Regions from separate parts of the Homo sapiens genome. Here all the other regions are linked to region 4. Evidence: promoter capture Hi-C in 16 types of primary human blood cells and fetal thymus (Javierre and others, 2016). All regions are on one chromosome and are shown on one strand. Each heading gives the region's core, a stretch centred on a gene start or on the middle of the fragment in contact. The rest is flanking DNA. Distances are from core to core; before and after follow the strand shown. Region 1 overlaps ZMAT1 (zinc finger matrin-type 1). Region 2 has its middle 15 kb from the start of ZMAT1. Region 3 overlaps CSTF2 (cleavage stimulation factor subunit 2). Region 4 holds the start of BTK (Bruton tyrosine kinase). Region 5 holds the start of BEX5 (brain expressed X-linked 5).

Region 1 (3,579 bases), core at 286-2,785, 540 kb before region 4:
ATGTATTCAGGAATCATTTATTGAACACTTCTATGTGTGTGTGCCAGGCACTATGCTTAGTGTTAAGGATATACGGACAAATTAAACACAGCTATACTAAACAACTCAATAATAGTGCTTGATAGTAAAATTATAAAATATTTAAATAAGGGAAGGAATGCAGTTTTAAATGTTACTAGTCAGAATCCTGAGCCACAGGACCATTCCATTGTTTATTATAAATCTGTACTCTGTAGCTCATAGTATTTTATATACTACAGGCACAGTGAAGCAAATTATACTGTAAATCTAATGGTGTGACGGAAGAATAGTAAACTGTTACAGAATTAGTTTTTAATTATCTGCATTTGGCAGGTGGAGATATCTGGAGAGAGGTAAATTATTATTTGTTCGTTTGTGATCCTCTCTATTAGATTTCAGTGTGTGAAAATACTAACTAAGCTTGTTGTAAAGACTAACTTAAGCATACCCCCTACTATATTTATTACATATCAGTTAGGATAAAAACTTTGATTCTTTCTCATCTGAAACCAGCCTTGCAGATTCATTCACATTTACTAACCTGTTGGAATGAATGCCATGTATTTGGTGGCTTTCTGATGCAAAGTAGCTGTCATGGGATCAGGTGTGTTAATGGATTTACACAGTACCTTAATTCAGTTTCTGACTTCACAAGCATGAACCCTGAGCTGGCTAGCTACAAAGTGCTTATGATTATGAAGGTAAAGGACTTGGTTTAAATAAAGACAATGTAAATGTTAAACATATAACTAGTACTCCCAATTATTTTGTTAATTCTGTTGTAATATGTAATTGTTAACATGCCATGGGAAACCCTTCATTATTTCTTTGATTGTGATAACTGTGTAAAGTAGCTAAAACTTGGCAAACTCATAAGTCAGGTGGTAGTCTTATAAACTGAAAAACTAAGGACACTAGATAGCATTATAGCTGTGAGTGGTCATCATGCTGAGAGGTACAGATCTGCATTTCTACCACAGCTATTATTCATGAAAATTCCTTAAACAGAGTGTGACCTTTAGGGGAAAAAGAGTTAAAACATTTTGTGTAGGTTAACTCAGTTCCCCAGTCTCCTATAACTTAGTGCTGTGCTCTGCTCATTCTTTTCTAAGATTGTGATGGTGTTAAAAGATTGCAAAGGTCAAGTCAGTTTTTTTTAATTCTATTTAATCAAGAATGCTTGAGGGAGTTTAAAAGTGTAATCATGGAAAATATAGCACATGTGCTCTTTGCACAATTAAAATGATTATTTCTCAGATTTTGTAATGCCTGACTTGAAATCTGTGACTGAGAATGAGATTTATGTTTATGATATTGCAGCCAGTCCTGAAGTTTGCTCCATTTTTGTTACTTTATTAAAATAGGGTATACAACGAATCCTTTATAATGCTAGATGTTTTTGCATCAAGATCAGTTGGCCTGTGAACTTCCCACTTCAGCAAAGCATTAAAACATCTAATAGCAAGTTTTTCCCATAAACATCTGACGGGTTATCCTGAGGAGGAAATTTGGGGTTTTGTGCAACTCAACCTAATTGTCATTTAACAAATGCAAGTGAGATTCACTTTATTAAATATAGCCAGTTATATCTAAAATAGAGTCACCTAATTTGAATAGCTTAAACTTGGGGGTTAACAAAGAACATTTAATTGGAATGAACAGAGAATTCTCTTGCCCGGAACTGAAGAAATATGGTAATTTTCTGGTTCCTTTCCTCAGAGATCCTGCATGGTTTACAATTCCATAAGCATGGGTGGACCAAATTCATTATTCTCACTCAAGCCATAAATGTTTTATTTTTGTCATAAAAATGCATTTCATCTTAAATTGCCTGTTGTTATGTAGTAGCATTAATTAGAAAATTTCAAATATGATAATTTGGATTTCACACTCAGCTGCACTTTTGAATGCAGAAGTTAATGTTACTTTACTTTCACATAATAGTGCTGCTATTTGGAGTAGGCACAATCCAACAAAAGTAGCTAAAAAGTAAGTTTCTGTCAAGTCAATCTCTTTGCTTTTTATATCATTGAAGGCAGATATTCTGGTACAAACTGAATTGAGTATTTTATATCAACATAAGGAATTTTAGTAATGCCCAAGTCCATAGAATGTGAGCTATTAGTACTCCTAATTGCATCTTACTGACTTAAGAACATCCCTCTATTACTATTGTCTCTTCCCAGACTACTAGAATTTTTTGATAGACCAAATCCACCTGAGTCTAGAATCATGTTTTACAGTTTACCTCCCTCAATTCTTTAATTCCTATTACCTCTCTGGGCCTTAGCTTCCTCCTTTATGAAATGAGGACATTGGATTGGTTCTAAACTGGAGGCAGTTTTGCCTCACGGGATATTTGACGTTGTCTGGAGATATTTTTGGTTGTCACAACTATGGAATGCTACCGGCATCTGATTGGCAGAGGCCAAAGATGCTGCCAAATATCCTATAATGCGTAGGACAGGCTCCTCACCACAATCAGTTATCCAGCCCAAAGTGACAATAGTGCCGAGTTTCAGAAACCATGAACTAGATGACCTCTAAAATAACTCTGGTCTAAATAAAATGATTATGTATAATATTAAGTAAAAAATGCAAAGCTTCTGGATTAGTGAACAAGCATACTTTATCAAGTGCCTACATGTGTTGAACATTTTAAAAATTATTTCATTTAACATTCACCAAATCCTAGAATTAAAAATTACACATTGTATTTCTGTACCTTTTAGGTGAAATAAAAAACGGTCCATAGTGGTTACATAATTTGCTGAAGGCTATATAGTTGTGGGTAAAGATGGGATTTGAATCTGTTTGACCAACTCAGAATCTTATTTATTTTTTTCCAACATCCCAGTACTGTAGGTCATAGTTTTTCTCCCCATTACAAATTATTATGAAAGATTTATTTTCTTAGGTCATGAAAACATTTCTTGTAAGAGGGAAATGAAGAGGTAAAACACTCTTATTTATAGAAAATTGGAGTTTATTCATTTCTCCCACCAAATGCTGAAGCCACACTTAAATGTAATCAAATACATTACTGGAATATATGAGCTCTCTGATCAGATCCCATTTATAATTTGTCACAAAACTACCATTTCATTTCAAATAACCATCATAAATGTTATTCAGAAGTGGATTGTTTATGTCATGGTAGCAAAACAACCATCACTTGCTCATGCAGTTTCCTCTGAGCAGCAGGTTGACTCTGCAGGGCAGCTGTCCTTCATGCAGTGATTCAGATGCTTTTATCTTTTATTTTTTTCAATATTTTATTTTATGTTTTATTGTAAAATATGCACACCATAAACTTTGCCATTTTAAGTGTGAAATTCAGTGGCATTAACTACATTTACATTGCCAAGCAAGCTTCACCACTGTCCATCTCCAGAACTTTTTCATCATCCCAAATTGAAACTCTGTACGTATAGGTCATAGTTTTGTTATATGACCATATTTCTCCACTCTGAAGAACTTTCTGATGTATTTATGGAAAGTAATATATATTTAAAAGTCATGCTTAATTTGTTAACAGTTGGCAACTTGAATAGTTTC
Region 2 (3,540 bases), core at 783-3,282, 560 kb before region 4:
GGGAGAGAGCCTAGGGGCAGGTGAGGAGGGAGAGACAGAGAGAGAGAGAGAGAGAGAGAGAGAGAGAGAGAGAGAGAGAGACTGGCAAGTACACAGGCACTTTATAAAAGAGGAAGTTGCCAGCAAAAAGTTTAAAAGAGGAATCAAGAGGGTGCATTAGCTTGTGGTATGTGTGTGGGGGCAGAGTGACGGTTATCAGGATACTAATGCTAAAGGAAGGCAAAAGACACAGTAGGAATGTGGCTTAGGGGTTGCTGACACTCAGTCAAGTATCAGTGGGGATACAAGATTTTTTTTCCTGTGGTCTTCTCAATTATGCCTAAATCTGAGTAAGCACAGCAACTGCTCAGGTTTCCCGTAAATAAACATATACTTTGTCTGAGAGAGATCAAATTTGCAAAGTCAATTCACAATAATTTGACCAGCAACTATTATAGCTCCCTGAAAGATAGGGCAGAGCCAGTCACTGCATGCAGGAGACGGCCAAGAGAAGGTATCAACTGGGGTCTGGAGAATCTCTTAGAGTACTCTTGTAGTATTATTAATTATTTTGGTTTGTTCTATTTGTTTAAATATTCTGGAGACTTGTTCTGTCTTATTAACCTACATGCAGCAGGAGGTCCTCTTTAAGACAGAAACTTTACCTTGACATGGCAGTAGGTAGTCCAATGCTAATCTTTTGTCAGCTACCACAGCAACTAGAGGGCTTTGTGCCTCATTAAGGGCTTCTAAGGCTTAAGATGCTTACTGTATATGGTCTGCCAGGACTGTGACAATGTCTGAGTGGCCTTATGAATTCAGTCTGTGTTACAGAATTGAAAATAACTAAATGTGTTCCTGTTATACCAGAGATTGTCATAAGGTCCAATATGATAGAAAAAGATAGGTTGGTGCTTCTTTCTGTGGGGAGGCTAAATGAGAGAGGTTGTTGTGGGCTGCATGTTTGTGTCCCCTCAAAATTAATATGTTTAAACAGTAATCCCCAGTGGGATTGTATTTGTGAGATCTCTCCATGGTGTCATTCAACAGGGTTTAGGTATGGTCTAGGCAAGTAAGGACCTGCCAATAAGCTTTACTTCTTTGTAAGGTATCCTTAACATTGCATAAATAAGAAGTATATGAAATCACAAAGGCATATATAAGCAGGATGGGTGGGATCTTTAGTTAAGCAGTTCACAGTAACCATGGTGGTGTTGGCATCTGGTAGGTAGGAAACAAATATCTGCATAGATTGAAACTTGGGGTATAAGGCAGGAGGTGAGAAATAAGAAAGAGTAGTTGGGGAAATTATAGGGGATCCAGGTGGGTTTACAGGTGGAGTGGAAGAGCCAGGGGTTGTTTTTGGAAGCAAGGAGGAGATCAAAATCTTTGTTTGGTGGGTTTGGGCATGGAATTTTGGGGGCAGGACATCCTAGGGTATCATTGTTAATGCTGGGACTGTCAGTTGTGCTGAGATCATCATTTGGAAAGAGTTGGTCTCTTTGGCAGAGGTCATCATCTTGGAAAAGTTGGATTGACGGTCTGAGGTCATCATTCTTGAGGTGATGATTGTTGGCCTGTGTTGTTCATTACTGCTTGTGGATGTTAACTGTAAAGAACCTAGTGTGGTGGGAGGTCAGGGCTCCTGATGTGAGTCTGGAGCTACCTTTAAGACCTTGAGGTAAAGTACCTTTGAAAAGTTATTATGAAAGTGTCCAGAGATTTGTCTTTTGCCCTAGCAGTTACAGAGTCACTTCTTATAGAAAAACTGTGAACTAATTGAATACTCCAAACAAGAAGGAGGAAAAGAAGCCCAAGGACTTTGGCATTGAGCAGAAGTGGCAAAGTCCACATCCAAACCATGAACTAAATTAAGTCTTGGCCAGGACAAGCATAACCAGAATAAATGCTCTACAACATTTTCAGGCTTTTGGCATATAGTCCCTGGTATGCTCAGGGTGTTTGTTTATTATGATGAGATTCATGGATATTGTCATCTTGAATCCTGTAGTGGCTCCTCATTCAACATCACTGTGATGGGTTGGAGCCAGAGCTGGTATCCTACTTAATAATATTGGCTCTGAATACTAATTTCAGATCTTTTATTCTTCATTGGAAGATCTACACAGTTGTAAGTGTGGGATCAGTTGCAGAGATCTCTATTCCCTGTTAAGAACCTACAGTTAGTTAACTAAACTTAAAAACCATTATAAAGGAGAATGACGGCAGACTTTGGCAGAATGCCTTTTTGTGGCATATGGAATAAACTTTTGGGGTGGGGGAGGTTCTGGATTTTATTGATCCCCATTCTGTTATCTTCCTTAAATCCAGGCATCAATCTGGCATAATTTATGCCAAAATAGAAAAGAGGTAGTAAAATGGGAAGGTGTCATTAAGTGGAAGGTGATATTATATTTGGGTATCCTATATCTAGAGTCGTAAGTGAGAAGTGCCCATTTTATGGCTAGAAACATGATAATGAATGTTTAAGGAACAAAATGGCAAGTTCATAAAGCGATCTAATATATAGATATATTTAATGAAAGCCTGAGTTTAACTTATTGTTGTTTGCATGATAATTAACCATAGTTATGTGTTTTCCCTAAGAACTTATTTCCTCATCTATGAAATAAAAATAAAAGTACACACAACATAAAAGTGTTGGAAAGAATAAAAGAAGGAGTGCACATATCTTAAGTGGTATTGTTCCTGACACTTAAATTCTCAATGTATGTTAGCTGAATATATCATAATTTGTAATCCTACCAGCCAACCAGAAGGAGAATGAAGATTAGTGGAGATAGAGGAAGTTTAATGCATTTTGTTTAGTCCAGTACCCTCCCTCTGGTGCAGTAATCTGAATAGACCCATATAGACCCTAGGCTGGAAAATGGGTGGTCTGGGCAGTTCCTAGGACTGTTGAAGTGCAACTGGTCGGCTCGGGGTGTAAGCAGTTAACACCTTTGGCATCTGCTTATGACCACTTAGGTAATCTCTAAGAAGACTGAAGCTTTCTCTACAGCACTCCTCTTCTTCTGAGCCTTCACCAGCATCACTCTTAATGCTCCACTCATGGCAATGTAGTCTTCTTCTAGCATGTGCCTCCAAATTCTTTCAGCTTCTACCCATTACCTAGTTCCAAAGCCACTTCTATATTTTTAGATACTAGTTGCAGCAGCAATCCACTTCTTGGTACCAGTTTCTGTCTTAGTCCATTCGGGTTGCTATAACAAAATACCCTAGACTGGGTAATCAATAAACAAGAGAAATTTATGGCTCACAGTTCTGGAGCCTGAGAAGTCCAAGATCAAGTTGCCAGCAGATTTGATGTCTAGTGAGTGCCTGCTCCCTGCTACAAAGATGACTCCCTTTAGCTGTACCCTCACATGCCAGAAGGGCAAAAGGGGCAAACAAGCTCTTGCAGGCTTCTTTTATAAGGAAACTAATCCTATTCACAAGGCCTCTGCCCTTATGACCTAGTCATTTCCCAAAGACCTCGCCTCTTAATATTAACACATTGGGAAATTGATTTCAACATATGAATTTGAGAGGGACACAAAC
Region 3 (2,981 bases), core at 482-2,981, 560 kb after region 4:
TGAACAAGGAACAGTTACAAGTATATGAGCAATACTCTTATTAATTGCCGATCTATACATTTTCAATAAATGTACATAGCTTTTAAATTTCTCTTTTTCCCTTTTGTTGTTTGTTCTGATTATGTTTGTTAAAATACAATTTTATGTCAGTTTAATATGCTATAACAAATGTGACCTTGTATTTTTTTGTCTGTTTTCTTCATGAGCTTTTGAACCTAATCTGACAGTTCATTCATATTTAGCAGAGTAACAACTACATTAGTTTTTATTCCTTCCATCTTACTCTACATTTATTATTACTTATTTTACACTGTCTCTTACTTTTTTCCTCTTCTCTATTTTTGCTGGCTTGATTTTGTTTCCACTCATTCCATTTTCCCCCTTGTTAACTTGGAAGTTTTACTATGCTCTTTCACTTTACTGTCCCTTTCCCTGTTCTTATAATTAGACATACAGGATTTAACGTAAGAAATCTACTATTTCCTCCACCTAAGATATATACTTTCTAGCTGTGTATTAATTTTACCTAAGGATCCCATTATCATATTTGGCTGCACTGCAACAGTGGCTATGACAAAACTTTAGCAAGTACTGAAATGGTGAAGACTAAATGAAACTTACCTCCAGGAGCTAAGGAACCAGGGCCAGGTCCTGTGACAGCAGCTGGCATTTGCCCTGGTGCTGGAACTCCACCCTGCATAGAAGCTTGCATCAGAGGAGGTGCGCCATTGACATGCATTCCACCCTGACCAAGCAAAAAAAACAGAGTATGTATATGCCTCTGTGGATACTCAATATACTAAGTCTACGACCTTAAAAGTCCTCTTCAAATGAACAGCCCCAAATACACTACTAAACATCCTTTTTGTATGGCATGTCTTATGCAGCATTAGATTTGTCACACACTTTAAACTCCACAGAAGCAATATACGTCATGAGCCTGGTTATATGGAACACGGTTAAGATGGAACATATTCTCAATGTAGAGATTGACAAGTCTTATCTGTGTGGCAAGGCAGCACATAACACCTACTGTTAACTTCATGATTGGGGCTGCCAATAAGAGTAAAAAAAAAAAAAAAAAAAAGCCCTAAACCCAAGAAACATAAAAGGAGACTGGGACTCTTTTAAAAAAAACAACTGCTGGTAGTCCACATTTTTAAAATTAAATTTTTTTTTTAATTTAACCAATCTTTTCTCACTCCTGTCCTTAGATATAATTCTGGTTTTGGGGGAATGTGAAATATATTTTTTTAAATGCTACATTAAAACTCGTTGAGAAAAAGAGAATGTCATCTTTTCATCTGTGCATTCCCCAAAAAACTGAGTAGTCCCTTGAATTAGAAACAGCTCAATAAATAAAGAATAAAAGCCAAGTTATATAAAAAAAATCACATATACGTTTAAGGAACACAAAACTCTACAAAAGAAAAGGAAGAGCTGTATAGGAAAGTAGTTAAGAGAAAACTGGCTGTGAGGTCAGATAAAACCAGGTTCAGAAATAGATCTGCCACTTATAATTGTGTCAATTTTTGGACCAGCTAACCTCTCTGGGCCTTAGCTTTTTTTTTCTATCTCTGAAAATGTATTTATTTATTTAGAGCAGGGGTTGGCAAACTATGACCCATGGGCCAAATCGGGCTCACTGCCTGGTTTTATAAACAAACTTTTAACGGAACACAACCACACACACTTGTTCACTTATTGCCTATGGCTGATTTCATACTACCATGGCAGAGTAGCTGTGGCAGATCCTGTGACTTGCAAAGCCAAAAATATTTACTGTCTGATCATTTACAGAAAAATGTTTGCTGGTCCCTGCCCTGTACCTCTGCCAACCTGAGAGATGAAAAATGGTAGCTTATTGTAGTTTCTATTTACATTATCTTATAACATTACATATATAAATGATAATTTATTACATTATCTTATTTTGAAGTTGAATAAATTTTTATATATTTATATTTCTCCTTTTGTGAAATATTTATGTCTATTTCCCATTTTTCTACTGGGTTATTGGAAATTTTCTTACTAATTTATAGGAGGCCTTTTAAAATTTATTATGAAAAATTACAGATATACAAATCATATAGAAAATAAAATAGCCACCCAGCTTAGGAAATAAATAAGTAAATAAAATAAACCAATGGCCTGTACGGTCTTCCCCAATTGCATCCTGTGCTCTCTTCTCCTTTGATGACCACTAAGACGTCTTCTTAATGTTTCAAAATTTTATATGAATCATTACATACTCAATATATTATTTTGCAACTCATTCCACATATTTTGGGGATTTATGCAGAAACATATATCCTACATTTCGGGAATGCATCCATATTCACTTAGTTTCATGTCCGTATGTCACTGTTTTGGAGTTGTGTTGATATTATGTATCCTAGTTCATCTTAACTGCTGTATGGAATTATGTTTTTCAAAGTCATTCATGTTGATACGTGTAGTTTATTTAACTGTTGTACAGTATTTCACTGGATGAATGTACCACACATTTTCTCCATTCTTCCACTGACGTACATTTAGGACATTTCCAATTTTTCACTCTAAGGCAATAAACATTCTTGTGAATGACTATGGGCTCTTTATTAGTCTGTTTTCCATCACATGTGTGGTAAATACTTTTTCTCAATTTGTCATGTCTTTGATACTTATTTTTTTCTTTATATAGAAATTTTTTAGTTTTCAAATGTATCAATTTTTTATGGCTTTAAGGTTTTGTGTCATGCTTTGAAAGCAAGCTTTACTTTTTTCATCAGTAAGAATGGAGATAATAAGAGTGCCAACCTCATACAATTGCTTTGAGGATTAAATGAGATAATGCATATGGAATAACGAAGTGCCAACCACAGTGCCAGGCATGCACATACACACAAAGTTAGCTTATAAGAAAAGGGCATACGGGAAGGATCTCTTTGTTTTACAAACTTGGAATCGAATCTATATTCATTCAGATGTCATGTGCTCTG
Region 4 (3,524 bases), core at 268-2,767:
CACTCTATCATCAGTCTACAAATACTTTAAATGTTTTTATTTAAAGTCCTGTTGATGGCTGGGAGAGGTGGCTCACTCCTGTAATCCCTGCATTTTGGGAGGCCAAGGCAGGAGTATCGCTTGAGCCCAGGAGTTTGAGACCAGCCTGGGCAACATAGTGAAACCCCATCTCTACAAAAAGTAGAAAAATTAGCCCAGCACAGTGATGTGTGCCTATAGTCCCAGGTACTAGGGTGACTGAGGTGAGAGGATCACTTGAGCCCAGGAGGTGGAGGCTGCAGTGAGCCATGATCACGCCACTGCACTCCAACCTGGGCTTCAGAGCAAGACCCTGTCTCAAAAAAAAAAAAAAAAAAAAAAGGTCCCAGGGCCTGTTGGGGCTTGGGGGTGAGGGGAGGGATCTTAGAGGATGGGTCAATAGGTGCAGCAAATCACCATGTCACACATATACCTATGTAACAAACTTGCACCTTCTGCACATATACCCCATTTTTTTTGTTTGCTTGTTTGTTTGTTTTTTAGACAAAATAAAGAAAAAAAAATAAGGTCCTGTTGACTTAAAACTTCGGATGAAATTGTAGTGGGACCTGTGATCTGTTTCTACATTAGGATACAGTGCCTTGGGGCAAGGAAATATGGCAGTGCCCGAGGTGTCAAGGTGGGCAGGCAGATCAGTCAGCAGGGGCTCCACCATCATGGTCTGCATTCAATACTGGCTGCATTTCCTAGGAGAATCCCTGGGGGAATCATTGCAGTTGGAGCATAATGTAGGGGGCCCCTGAGAAAACCTCCAGGCTTCAAGTGACATACCTAGTCTGCTTTACCGGTTTACAGGACTCAAGAGAAAGGTGGACATTGAGAGTTAATCCCTGAGGCCAAATCTTAAATGGAGAAAGTCAACATCCACAGAAAATGGGGAAGGGCACAAGTATTTCTGTGGGCTTATATTCCGACATTTTTATCTGTAGGGGAAAAATGCTTTCTTAGAAAATGACTCAGCACGGGGAAGTCTTGTCTCTACCTCTGTCTTGTTTTGTCCTTTGGGGTCCCTTCACTATCAAGTTCAACTGTGTGTCCCTGAGACTCCTCTGCCCCGGAGGACAGGAGACTCGAAAAACGCTCTTCCTGGCCAGTCTCTTTGCTCTGTGTCTGCCAGCCCCCAGCATCTCTCCTCTTTCCTGTAAGCCCCTCTCCCTGTGCTGACTGTCTTCATAGTACTTTAGGTATGTTGTCCCTTTACCTCTGGGAGGATAGCTTGATGACCTGTCTGCTCAGGCCAGCCCCATCTAGAGTCTCAGTGGCCCCAGTCATGTTGAGAAAGGTTCTTTCAAAGATAGACTCAAGATAGTAGTGTCAGAGGTCCCAAGCAAATGAAGGGCGGGGACAGTTGAGGGGGTGGAATAGGGACGGCAGCAGGGAACCAGATAGCATGCTGCTGAGAAGAAAAAAAGACATTGGTTTAGGTCAGGAAGCAAAAAAAGGGAACTGAGTGGCTGTGAAAGGGTGGGGTTTGCTCAGACTGTCCTTCCTCTCTGGACTGTAAGAATATGTCTCCAGGGCCAGTGTCTGCTGCGATCGAGTCCCACCTTCCAAGTCCTGGCATCTCAATGCATCTGGGAAGCTACCTGCATTAAGTCAGGACTGAGGTGGGTCTGGGGTATGGCAGGGGCTGGGCAGCAGCAGCAATGTACCTTGCTTGGGACCCCTAAAAACCAGAGAGACAGCATGGCTGGTGCCATTTATCAGCTAGTGGAGGAGGCTGACGGAGGGTGGGAGTGTCATCAGCACAAGGCCCTGGCAGTCCCTTCTGGTGATTAGAGAGGCCGAAAGGGTCCTTTCCGACAAGGGCTGAGGGTGGGCGGAACAGGAAGAGAAAAATGTGACATGAGGTGACCATCCGAACAGGTAGCAAATGTTAGAAAGGGGTACCTCTGGCAAACTTAGTGGAAAAGTAATATTGCAGGGAGCAGTCAGATAAAAACAAGCCCTTCTGTCAAATAGTGCTTGAAGACTCAATAGGGATACATGGGTCAATGAAGCCTTTAGAAAAAGAAATACTAAGAGGCAGATTCTCTGAGAACATGGTAAAAGCTCACGCTCCACGTTATGAAGTTGACCTTTGTGAGCTAGGGAAAGGCCTGGCTAGGCCAGGGTGTAGGCTACCTGCCTTGAGCTGTACCAGGCCAAATGTCGCCAGGGTCAGAGCTGGCTTATTAAAGGACTGTGTGGAAGCTGTGCCAACCTCGTGGTAACAATGGGTAAAAGACTGGGCCAGGAGAAAGCAGCCTCTGCCTCAGCCCAGACAGTGCGGCCAACCCTTGAGGTTGTGGCAAAGGTTTCTCCTCTTACCATTGCCCTCCATGTGCATGGCTTGCTTTTCTCTTGTCTTCATTATTTCTCCTTTCCTTTCCTCCTCTCCAACCTCCTCCTCTTCCCACTCATCCTCTTTTCTCTACCTATATCCCCTCTTCATTATACCCTCCTCTGTTCTGTTGATTACCAGACCCTGACATACAGTTAGCACTTAACAAATAATTGCCGAATTGCATTGACTTTTTCTTGCTCCTTTCTTCCCCCGCTCTTTTCCCTTTTCCTTTCCCTTTCCATTTCCTCCTCCCTGCCTGCCTAGCACCTTCCCCATAAGGTGGTTGTGAGCAGTAAATGTGCAAATACATGTAAAGCTTTTAAAACAGGGCCTGGCAATAGTAAGTGCTGGATCTCAGTATTTGCTATAATTTTTACTCTGCCTCAGACCTGCCAATGTCCCCCAGAGGGCCTACCTAGAGCAAATAATATGACATTTAGAATAAAAGTGATTGGTGACCCCAATCAAGACATCCTTGGATAAGTTGCCCAGACTCCAGCCTCTCTGGAGCCTCAGTTATTTGATAAAATAATGTCACTTTCCAAATAAGCCACAAAATGCAAATACTCATGGCAACCTAAAGCATTATACCCAAACAGTGTCCCTTAGGGCTTGTCCTGTCTATTCTGACTCCTTTTATATTCAAACTATTTAAACTGCTTGCTTGTGTTGAAGTCCAAATTTCCATTGCGTATGGCTATTGATATTTTTGTTTGGAATTTTTTTTTTTTTTTTTTGACACGGAGTTTCACTCTTGCTGCCCAGGCTGGAGTGCAATGGCACGATCTCGGGATCTCAGCTCACCGCAACCTCCGCCTCCCGGGTTCAAACAATTCTCCTGCCTCAGCCTCCCAAGTAGCTGGGATTACAGGCATGTGCCACCACGCCCAGCTAATTTTGTATTTCTAGTAGAGACGGGGTTTCTCCATGTTGGTCAGGCTGGTCTCGAACTCCCAACCTCAGGTGATCTGCCTGCTTGGGCCTCCCAAAGTGCTAGGATTACAGGCGTGAGCCACCGCACCCACCCTGGAATTCTTTGTAAACTCCTTATGGTGCGAACTAATGTAACTTTCCATCCAGTTATGGGGGATTGGTGCAATTTTAAATTATCACTATGATTTGCTATTTCCATTTGAGCAAATTTCCTATAGAGTTTCCT
Region 5 (3,701 bases), core at 940-3,439, 770 kb before region 4:
TAATAATAATAAGAAGAAGAAGAAGAAGAAGAAGAAGAAGAAGAAGAAGAAGAAGAAGAAGAAAATGAATATGTGTGTATTATCTTTGTTTTTGAAGGGAGATATTTGGACTGATTTAGAGTAAAATGTGAATAGTATATTTCCTGTAGCGGGGATAAAACTGATATTATCCTTCTACCTTACCTGTGTTTTCTAATTTTGCTGAGGGCTTTTTCTGGTACCTTGGGAACTTGCTCAGCCCAGGTGTAGGACAACTTAAAAGTGCCAGAGATTTTAACATCCTCAGCGTGACATCCACCAATAGAGGGCCAAGTCTGTAGAAAAATACCCCAACTTCTCATCACTAGTTAGGATAATTCTGAGGAGCACTCTAAATCATTTCTGAGACTTGGAGGGTCCCCAGCAGATTTGAGCCAGTTGCCTTTTGGTCTTGTCAGGATCTGGTGCTGTATTTAAAACAACTTTTCCATTCTATTATATAAAAAATAACATGCTAAGTTCTATTTTTAATGGTTTAATGTCTTTTATGCAAACATTTAGTGTCTATTTTTAAGTGTATGAGAATGATAAGGCACTTCATTGTTTTTGAAAATAGTCAATTATCCCGATACAATTTCTTCAATCTAACCTTTCCCCACTGATTCAAAATATTTCAATGCATTTACTAGCATTTTTTCCATATTTGGGTTTGATAATTGAATTTCTTTTCTGGTTCATTTGTTCTAAATTTATTCTGGTACACTATTATCTTAACATTGTAATTTCACAATACTTTTTAAACTTTTATTTTAAGTTCAGGAATACATGTGCAGCTTTGTTATATAGGTAAACTGATCCTCTCCCTCCTCCCATCCTCCACCCTCCTGTAGGCCCCAGTGTTGTTCCCCTCTATGTGTCCATCACAATACATTTTCATCTGTCAGGGTAGCTTCCCCAAATTATTGTCCTGAATCATCAGGGCTAGGTGTTATTGTAAATTGTGGTTACACTAATACAATTTAGAGGAGATCATCAGTTTGTCACAGGTTCTCAAGACATGAAAATCCACCAGAGAGGCTCTATTAGACTCAATGCATCATTTCACGGAAGGACATGTAGAGATCCTTCACGAGAAAATCACTTCTTTCCTTCTTTCCTTCCTCTTTTCTTTTCTTTTCTTCTTCCTTTCTTTCTCTTTCTTTCTTTCTTTCCTTCTTTCTTTCTTTCCTTCTTTCTTTCTTGACAGAGTCTCACTCTATCGCCCAGGCTTGGTGTGCAATGGTGCTACCTCGGCTCACTACAACCTCTGCCGCCCAGGTTCAAGCAATTCTCCTGCCTCAGCCTCCCGAGTAGCTGGGATTACAGGCGCCTGCCACCACGCCCAGCTACTTTTTGTATTTTTAGTAGAGACGGGGTTTCACCATCTTGGCCAGGCTGGTCTTGAACTACTGACCCCGTGATCCACCCACCTCGGCCTCCCAAAGTGCTAGGATCACAGGCACGAGCCACCGCTCCCGGCCTTATTTCAAAGTCCTTAAAGGAGGCAGGGGAATGCTTTCTGGAAGGTTTATATTTATAATATGATTCAGCAGGAGAAACAGATTGCCATGTTTTTACAACTCGAATCCTGTTTTTTCAACTGAAAATAATTGTATTGTCTAGTTATAAAAACAACAACAAAATGAATGCATGCTGATGAAAAATAAAAGGAACCCCCTTCCCAAATAAACAAACAAAAAGGAAAGTAGTTGAAGTGAAAAAAAAATTTGAATACCACTTCCTGCCTATTTTCCAGACTTCCTAGCCTCTCGCTCCCCACCCCTTCTCCGGGTTCCAATCTGGGACCAAGCCCTACAAGACTGTTAGGGCTTTACTTGCTGGACGTGAAGGGGAGAGAAGTGTGCGTTTAGGTGTATAGAAGAGGAAGAAGCGATTTTTTAAAAGCTCCAGCAGAAACCAGAGCAAGCCAAATACAAAATATTATGACCCGTTTGGTCGTGGGGATCGCTAAATAAAAAAATAGAGGGGTGGATAGTAGCCTGTGGTAGTGGTGGAGAAAGCACGAATGAAGAGAAAGGTGGCCCCGCCCACAGTCCCGCCCCCACCCTCCTGCCGCACTGCGGGTGTGAATGGTAATTGGAAATCTGAGCTCACAGTGACGTGACCCTTAGGAGACCCAGAGCCAATGCGTGGATTAGTCCCTCCTCCTAGTTGCAGTCTGGTAGTTGTCGCTGGCCGTGTGACGGCTCGCTGTTGCCCTGAAGGCAGGCGAGCCAGCTGCCCAGGAAAGGTGGAAAGTGGTAGAAGCTGACCCCTGAGCCCTGGCAGGTAGGTGGCGCTGACCGGTGTGTGAGCAGCAGAGGGCAAAGACCAGAGCGGGTCTAGGACTGGATACACACCCTTTCCAGATACACACCCGTTTAGTGCGAGAAATGGAGCGGTTGGGGAGAGGATCTCCCGAGGGGGCTGGATTGAGAATGGGTACCATTTGAGATCTCCTAGGAGGCCGGCCATCGGGCAATGTCTGATGGAGTCCAGCCGGTGGAGGAGACTGAAAGGAAACAGCCTGCTTCCTGCAGGTCCGCGGGAGGGAGGTACAGCCGGCAACCAAGGGTTGGGGAGGGCGGACCCTGCCAAGGTTTTAGGCCTGCCTTCTAGGTATCTTTTCTTCACCCTCTACCCATTTAGAGCTGGAAATGATAGGCTGCGGGGGCCGAGGAGAGGAATTGCTGCAGAGGAGGGGGACAGAGATTAGGTCTGGAAAGCAGGTCCCTATTGCGGCAGTTGAGCGGGCGAGCTTCTGACTGAGGGACAGAGGCGAGGAGCGAGAAACTGTTTTTGGTCTCAGCAGGTCGGTCGGTGTAAGCGTGGGCGCTACCTGTAGATCCTGGAGTGAGAATGACAAAGCGCAGAGACCGCAGCAGGTCCTAGTTTTCAATGCCCACATACCTCTTCACTCATCGTCCATCTTGATGCATAAAATGGTGGGCATGGGAGTGGGGATCGGGTGGAGAGAGGGCCTGATGGATATCTAGATTGAAATTCTTTGTGAATAAACTACGTATTCATTCAGCAAGCTCTTCTAACTCCCCCGCCAGGCAAGTTGCCTGCGTTGCAGAAAGGGTAACTAGATGACAGGTAAGAGGAAACAGTAGAGATGGGCGCCTAAAGAAGAGGTTAAAACGTTTTGGAAATAATCATCTTTGATGCCTATTTCTGGAAGGTGGGATAGCCTGTCACAGGGTGGGAAAAGAAGCCGTGAGACAGGATGGAGGAGAAACAGAAGGTGCTAATACTAGGAGAACCCTAAATCAACTCCCATTACCGGTCCTTTGATTAAAAGATCAGTCCTGGTAATTGTCACATTTGTCTGCAGGTCTTTAAGTGCGTTTGTGCAGCCGATTTCAAGGCTAAGAGAGAAAGACTGCCTCTGATCCCTGAAGGTAGGAGGTTGCCTGGGGCCCTCTGGTGTAGGGGTATCAAGGATCAGAGCAGAATCTGGGTGACTCACAGCCCTTCCTGCCCGAGTTGAGTGCAGGAGAAACTTAGGAGAGTCTTCATAAAATGACAGCCTGTATCTGATGAGGGAAGAAGGGAGTAGAGGGGCGAGATCTGGGGCGCTCCTGGAGAGCTTATTAGGATCCCAGGGAGGTGAAGTCTGGTCTCTCTATGATCGTCCCCCTCCGCTAAGTCGTCTTGCATTTTGGCGGTAGGAGTGGCCT

The links. Contacts are between HindIII fragments. The CHiCAGO score rates a contact against its expected background, and 5 or more counts as called.
Region 1: a contact is called between a fragment that was not itself captured here and the fragment with the promoter of BTK in region 4, in 11 of 17 cell types (neutrophils, fetal thymus, total CD8 T cells and 8 more). The highest score is 11.1, in neutrophils.
Region 2: a fragment that was not itself captured here is called in contact with the fragment with the promoter of BTK in region 4 in 1 of 17 cell types (total B cells); the score reaches 6.0 in total B cells.
Region 3: a contact is called between a fragment that was not itself captured here and the fragment with the promoter of BTK in region 4, in 7 of 17 cell types (non-activated CD4 T cells, activated CD4 T cells, naive CD8 T cells and 4 more). The highest score is 11.4, in non-activated CD4 T cells.
Region 5: the fragment with the promoter of BEX5 here is called in contact with the fragment with the promoter of BTK in region 4 in 2 of 17 cell types (naive CD4 T cells and activated CD4 T cells); the score reaches 5.2 in naive CD4 T cells.

What each region holds. Positions count from the first base shown.
Region 1 is chrX:101,924,753-101,928,331 of GRCh38, reverse strand. The region is part of intron 1 of ZMAT1 (zinc finger matrin-type 1); the gene reads left to right. Among named protein-coding and RNA genes, the nearest start is that of ZMAT1, 5.5 kb to the left of the region's middle. The HindIII fragment of the contact is 2,183 bases long and covers 444-2,626 here.
Region 2 is chrX:101,945,490-101,949,029 of GRCh38, reverse strand. No RefSeq gene overlaps it. Among named protein-coding and RNA genes, the nearest start is that of ZMAT1, 15 kb to the right of the region's middle. The HindIII fragment of the contact is 1,919 bases long and covers 1,073-2,991 here.
Region 3 is chrX:100,824,398-100,827,378 of GRCh38, reverse strand. CSTF2 (cleavage stimulation factor subunit 2) reads right to left here. Exons shown (of 14, transcript NM_001325.3): 7 at 622-745. Among named protein-coding and RNA genes, the nearest start is that of CSTF2, 5.5 kb to the right of the region's middle. The HindIII fragment of the contact is 2,048 bases long and covers 708-2,755 here.
Region 4 is chrX:101,384,184-101,387,707 of GRCh38, reverse strand. BTK (Bruton tyrosine kinase) reads left to right here and starts at 1,517. Exons shown (of 19, transcript NM_000061.3): 1 at 1,517-1,646. RefSeq lists an enhancer at 2,031-2,250. The HindIII fragment of the contact is 7,609 bases long and covers 1-2,683 here.
Region 5 is chrX:102,154,465-102,158,165 of GRCh38, reverse strand. It overlaps BEX5 (brain expressed X-linked 5), which reads left to right and starts at 2,189. Exons shown (of 3, transcript NM_001012978.3): 1 at 2,189-2,307; 2 at 3,356-3,422. RefSeq lists an enhancer at 2,233-2,372. The HindIII fragment of the contact is 12,891 bases long and covers 1-3,701 here.